Linked DNA regions of Homo sapiens: region 2 is linked to region 1. Evidence: promoter capture Hi-C in 16 types of primary human blood cells and fetal thymus (Javierre and others, 2016). All regions are on one chromosome and are shown on one strand. The core of a region is centred on a gene start or on the middle of the fragment in contact, and the rest is flanking DNA. Distances in the headings are between cores, read along the strand shown.

Region 1 (3,616 bases), core at 749-3,248:
TAGAAAGTAAACAGCTATACTCTACATAACTCCCAACCTAATAGTTTACTGAATAGAGGGTTGTTAATCTTTCTTCAGCATATCAAAGAGTAGTTAACAAAAAATAAAATAACAATCCAATCTAAATCCTTCATCCTGGGTAAGGAGTAGAATAGAAGGGAGGGGCTGCGTGCCAAACACTTTTAATAACTTTTAATAAATAAGTTGACTCACCTATTATTTTCACAGCAATCTTAAAGTTTTTCTTTTTTCTTGCTTTTTTTTTTTTTGAGGTAAATATGTTTTCTTACCGATGCAGACAGGGAGGTAAAAATTAACTTGCTCAAAGTTACTCAGCCAATAATTGGTGGAGGTGGGGTACAAACAGGCAGTTTGGCTCAAGTTTTAGCTCTCTGCCACTGTCACATTACTCCACAGCCTCTGTTTAATATAAGATCACAACTAAATAAGAGCAGCTATTCAAAAGGTGAATTATATAGCCCTTACAACAATATTAAAGAGCAACTGGAATTGTAAAACAATGTGTATTGAAGGGCATAAAATTGTACTGTCAAGTGTAAATCTAAGGAGTTCTGTAAGTACAAATCTGACAGACAATTTCAATATACAATCTAATAAAATACTGTATACCCACGTCAGAGGAATAACACTAACTCTTGAAAGATTAAGAACAGTATAATTAGAAACTTCTACTGATCTTAAGACCTAGTCTTATCTGTCTGAACTCGAAATCTGCCTCTTTCTAATTCCCTTCTGCACCCTGTTCGGAACTACTTTATTTCTGCCAAATTCCAAAATTCCAAATTTACTGATCATGTGTGTCTTTTTCACAGCACTTAAAAAGTTTACAGAAGAATTTTAACTTGCATAGCTCAAAACATCTGTATTGTACGCCAATAAATCGATAAACTTAAAAAAAAAAAGAAGGGATAAAATGGAAGAAAGAAAAAATCATTCTAAGCAATGAAATAGTAAGGAACAGAAAGGCAATGATGAATGTAACAATTTATGATTATAGTAACAATTTACTACATGTGATCAATTTGAGGGCTTATGAAGGTTTCTCAGCACATCAGCTGATGAGACGACTAATAAATATCCTGAGTCCAAGATGTTCTACATAATTAATCCTCTTGGCAAAGAACAAGAACCAGGGAAAATCGCAAGGAAGAAATGCACAAATGACACGCATGTGGAATTAGGGGGAGATGTTATGTACGTTACTACGAGGATGACACACTGGCATGTGAAAGGTTTCTGGGCTCCACCAGCTCGTTGCAGCACCAACGAGGTTGTGGTTGTTTACACCACGTCGCCCGGAAAAAAGCCGGCAAGCTTCAAGTGGACTATTAAGTTAATAATATTGAAGGGAAAGAAGGGCAACGCAACTGAACATCTGGATGAGCAGATCCCTGCCTAGGCCCCGAGGCAGCTGACCAAGTCCAGATCATTCCCCCTTACGGTCTATGCGCACAAAGAACCAGCTGCTTTAGGTCAGTCCGCCGCCTCCTGCTACCCCTATTACCGTGGCCTTAATTTCAGGCCAGCTAAGGCCAGAGGATGGGGTGAAGGGAGGGGAGGAGCCCCGGGAAGGGTCAGCGTCTGCGCCCCAGGGGAGGCTGACCTTCCAGCTCAGGCCCGGGACAGCGCGACCACAGGAACTCCAGGCCCACAGCCGCGCCTCCGCAGCCGGATTCTGAGCGCGGCGCCTCCTTCCTTCCCCTGCTGCTCCACCACCACCTCCGTCTCTGTCTCCGCCGTCGCCAACACCGCCCCCCCTCAGGCCCCTCACAACGCGCAGCCTGCAGCCAGCTGCCTCGCGGCGGAACCCCACCCCACCCCACCCCACCTCGCCCTTGCTTTCGCTCGCCCTTTTAGGGGGCTTTCCCCGCCCCTTCCACTATCCAGCGCGCCGAAGCCCCCTGCCCAGAGCTCGGCTTTGCTACCTGGATCCGCTTCTTGTGTCTCCTGCGTTCCGCCATGTTGGCCGCTCCGCCCGGTTCCCTCTGACGTGGAGCGAGGAGGGGGCGGTGGAAACCTCGCGAGAACGCGCCCCGAGGCCCGTTATGTAATCCGCCGGCTGGCGCCCCTGGAATGGGGAGGTCGGCCGCCTGGCGGGGCCAGCGGTCCTTAGCGGTGCCTTCTCTCCCCTCTTCCCTCCGCTCCTGCTGTGCGGGAACTGGAGAATCGTTAGGACGTGGAGGAAGCAGAGAAGTGGATCAGAGAACAGGAGGGCTGGGAAGAGTCCTGGTTTCTCAATCCTGACTGAGCATCTGAATCACCTGAGAAGCTACTAAAATGCAGATTCCCCGACCCCATCCCCTTAGAGTCAGAGTCTGTGCATTTAGGGTGCGGCCTTTCTCAGAGGGATCGACTGAGACCTACTGAACCCTAGAAGTCTTTACCTGAGGCAGTTCCTGCAATGTACTGTATATTTCATGACATTCCATGTAAAAGATGACAAGACCGAGACCGTTGAGTGACAGAGATAAGAACTGACTTATCTAAGGCTCCACAGGTGGTAGATGGCAGAGCCGAGACCTGAGCCAATTATCTTTTCTCCTGCACTGTGCGGGGTAATACAGCTCGTTTAAAACAAGCTGGAGTCTCCATTCCGTTTTCCGCGTTGCTTCTCACAACTCACTGTTAGAATCCAGAAGTAAGAGAACCCGGGGAAGCGTAAGGAAGATGAATAGGACAAAGATTCTAAGAAGGTGGGAAGGAAGAAGGCTGCAGTCTATTTCAAGTCTGGTGAATTTCAATCACTGTAGCCTTTATTGTTATTTTAGAGCCACCTAGACCAAAAGAGAAGGAGCTCAAATTGCTGGTAAGTGCTTAGATAGAAATTCCCTTGACTGACTTTATAGAGATCTTTAAAGCGTTTTTAATTGTAGAAAATTGGGAAAATTCAGAATAGAAAGATGTTCTTTTTTTTTTGATGCTGAGTTTCGCTCTATATTGCCCAAGCTGGAGTGCAGTGGCGCAGTCTCGGCTCACTGCATCACCGAACTCCTCGTCTCAACTGATCTCCCTCCTCAGCCTCCTGAGTAGCTGGAACTACAGGCATGAGCCACCACACCTGGCTAATTTTTACTTTTTTTGTGTGGAGATGGAGTTTCCTTATGTTGCCCGGGCGGGTCTTGAACTCCTGGGCTCAAAACGATCCACCTGTCTCTGTCTCCTGAGTAACTGGAACTACAGGCGTGAGCCACTGTGACCGTTCAGTTTATTTTCTTATAGTATTCTGACTTTGTGTGTGTGTGTGCATGTGTGTTTGTATTTATATTTTTTCCTGTTTCCCAAATTGAGATCATATGCAATAAGGCAGCTGCTTTTTTCACTTAATGTTAGGTTGTAAGCGTTTATTATACCATTAAAATTTTTTTCCAGGTTTCCCATATTATATATCTAACCTAAGAGCAATTAAATATGTAAGTAAGGCAAATTGCAGCATCTTGATGCCTAATTTTTTAATAAAGTAAGATTGCTGAATTTTTTTTTTTTTTTTGGACTATGCAGTTCTGGTCTCAGGAGTCATTTAATTCCTTTCTCCTCTATAATCTATAATTTGGGTGTGTGTATAGTCAGGGATGGGGTGAGAAAGAAGTAATTATTC
Region 2 (3,185 bases), core at 167-2,666, 310 kb before region 1:
CCTTCCTTCATTTATTTATTTATTTAAGAAAAGGTCTTGTTCTGTCACCCAGGCTGCAGTGCAGTGGCACGAACATAGCTCACTGCAGCCATGAACTCCTGGGCTCAAGTGATCCTCCTGCCTCAGTCTCCCAAGTAGCTGGGGCTACAGGCATGTGCCTCCAAACCCGGCTAATTTTTATTTATTTTTTGTAGACATGGAGGGTCTTGCTATGTTGCCAAGGCTGGTCCTGAACTACTGGCCTCAAATGATCCTCCCGGTCTAAAGTCCTAGGATTATAGGTGTGAGCTGCCACACCCAACCTTCAGGTATTCCTTTGTAACAACACAAAACAGACTAACACACAAGGGTAAATACAGCAGAGTGAAAAGAAACCAGGTTTGAGAAGGTTAAGAAAGAAGAGAAGTGTAAGAAAGTAAGTCAACACATAGACTTGAAATATGGCTAACTGGAAACTATAAGAGAGAATCAAGTGGAGCAAAAAAGATAGAGTTAACTTCACCGACACAATAATAAGGCTGAATGAAATGATAGACGCCACTTAACAGTGAAATGTCATCTTCAAAGGGCCTAAAAAAGAAGAAAACAGCTGACCTAGAATTCTCTATCCTGCAAAAGTAGCTCACAAAGTGAAAGTGAAAGAAAAACATTTTCAGACAAAGAAAAACTGAGTGGATCCATCACTACTAGGTGCTCACTAAAGGAAAAACTAAATTGAGTTCTTGAAGGAGAAAATGCATGATCTCAGATGGAGGAACAGACGTAGGAAGGAAAGAAAAACAAAAAGGGTAAAATGTGGGTAAATCTACATAAGGAGTAACTGTTTAAAAAAACAAATATACACACACACAGAATTTTAAACTCTGATAATAATAACACCCAAAGGCAGGAATGGAAAAGGAATGAATTTAAGGTGTGCCAAGGTCACTGCATCTTCTAGAGAAACAGTAAAAGTGTTATTTGTAATTTTCTTTTTTTTTTTTTTTTGAGACGGAGTCTCGCTCTTTCGCCCAGGCTGGAGTGCACTGGTACAGTCTCTGCTCACTGCAAGCTCCGCCTCCTGGGTTCACACCATTCTCCTGCCTCAGCCTCCCGAGCAGCTGGGACTACAGGCGCCTGCCACCGAGCCTGGCTAATTTTTTGTATTTTTAGTAGAGACTATGTTGCCTAGGCTGCTCTTGAACTCTCAGGCTCAATCCTTCCGCCTTAGCCTCTCAAAGTGCTGGGATTACATGTGTGAGCCATCACGCCCAAGTTGATTTTTTAGTAACAGCTATTCTGACTGGTGTGAGATGGTATCTCACTGTGGTTTTGATTTCTATTTCTCTGATAATTAGTGACGATGAGTGGTTTTTCATGTGTGTTGGCTGCTTATAGGTCTTATTTTGAGATATGTCTGTTCATGTCCTTTGCCCTTTTTTTTTTCTTTTTTTAAACAGTGTCTTGCTCTGTCGCCCAGGCTGGAGTGCAGTGGCATGATCTTGGCTCATTGTAATCTCCGCCTCCCCAGTTCCAATGATTTTCGTGCCTCAACCTCTTAAGTAGCTAGTATTATAGGTGTGTGCCACCACGCCCTAATTTTTTTTTTTTTTTTGTATTTTTAGTAGACATGGGGTTTCACTATGTCAGCCAGGCTGATCTCAAACTCCTGGCCTCAAGTGATCTGCCTGACTCTGCCTCCCAAAGTGCTGGGATTACTGGTGTAAGCCACCATGCCCAGCCCTTTGCTCATTTTTTAATGGGGTTGTTTTTTGCTGTTAAGTTCCTTATAAATTCTGGATATGAGATCTTTGTTGGATGTATAGTTTGTGACTATTTTCTCCCATTCTTTAGGTTGTCTGTTTATTGGTGGATTCTTTTGCTGCGTGGAAGCTCTGTAGTTTAATTAGGTCCCACTTGTCAATTTTTGGCTTTGTTGCAATTGTTTTCGGAGACTTAGCCAAAAATTCTTTGCCGGGGCCAATGTCGAGAGGATATTTCCTAGGTTTTCTTCTAGGATTTTTATAGTTTGAGGTATTACATTTAAATCTTTATTCCACCTTGAGTAAATTTTTGTATATTGTGATGAGGGTCCAGTGGTGACACATGCCTGTAGTCCCAGCTACCTGAGAGGCTGAGGTGGCTTGAACTCAAGAAGTTGAGGCTGTAGTGAGCCATCATTGCACCACTGCACGGGTGCCTGTGCAATAATCCTGTCTCACAAAAAAAATAAAAAGAAAAAAAAAAGTTAAAAAGAAAAAAAGACTTTTTCAGACAAACAGAACAAGAAACTAAAACATAACATCAAATAGGTGACTAACAGGTTTCTTCAAAATAATACAGGAGTGAGGGAAGTGAGTAGACAAAATAAGGCTAGACATGAATTGATAGCTGTTTTAACTAACAATAGATACAAGGGCTTTGTTATATTATTGTTTACTTTTATTTATGTTTCAAAGTTTTGGCTGGGCATGGTGGCTCATGCCTGTAATCCTAACACTTAGAGAGGCTGATTTGGGAGAACTGCTTGAGGCCAGGAGTTCGGGACTAGCTTGGGCAACATAGTGAGACTCTGTCTCTACAAAATAGAAAATGAAAAAATTAGCTGGGTGTGGTGGCACAGGGCTATAGTCCTAGCTACTCGGGAGGCTAAGGTGGGAAGATAACTTGAGCCCAGGAGTTTAAGGTTGCAGTGAGCCATAATCACACCACTGCACTCCAGCCTGGGCAACACAGCAAGACCCCAACTCAAAAAAAAAAAAAAAAAGAATGATACGGGAAAGAGAGGAGGCAGTGTGAACTAAATCTTTCATGTCCAGAAATACACAAAAATAAAAAATTGAAAAACAGAAATATAAATATTATGGACATAACTAGAAATGGTTTAAAAGGTTGCCAAGAAGCCAAACTGGGAGTGGAAGGTGGGAGACATGATTATCTTTTTCACTATAAGCTTTTTTCAAAAAACTGATTATTATTTTAATCAAATCATTTTAATTATTTGTTTTGTTTTAAAAACTGATAAAATACTTAATAGTCAAAAAAACAATGACAGTTAATATGTTTAATCATTTATTGTCTAAATAAGCAATTCAGGCACAAAACGGAAGGGTCTACTATATATTTTAAACAATACTACCAAGTATTTTAAACAGTATCCTTAAATACATTGTAATTTTCAGATTAAGCTATTTTAAAATGAAAAT

What was found. Contacts are between HindIII fragments. The CHiCAGO score rates a contact against its expected background, and 5 or more counts as called.
Region 2: a fragment that was not itself captured here is called in contact with the fragment with the promoter of SEC62 in region 1 in 1 of 17 cell types (fetal thymus); the score reaches 5.5 in fetal thymus.

The regions. Positions count from the first base shown.
Region 1 is chr3:169,965,189-169,968,804 of GRCh38, reverse strand. It overlaps SEC62 (SEC62 preprotein translocation factor), which reads right to left and starts at 1,998. Exons shown (of 8, transcript NM_003262.4): 1 at 1,947-1,998. The coding sequence starts at 1,982. It also overlaps the pseudogene FHL1P1. RefSeq lists enhancers at 1-323, 1,880-2,319. The HindIII fragment of the contact is 8,040 bases long and covers 1,338-3,616 here.
Region 2 is chr3:170,275,496-170,278,680 of GRCh38, reverse strand. The region is part of intron 8 of PRKCI (protein kinase C iota); the gene reads right to left. Among named protein-coding and RNA genes, the nearest start is that of PRKCI, 55 kb to the right of the region's middle. The HindIII fragment of the contact is 3,036 bases long and covers 1-2,934 here.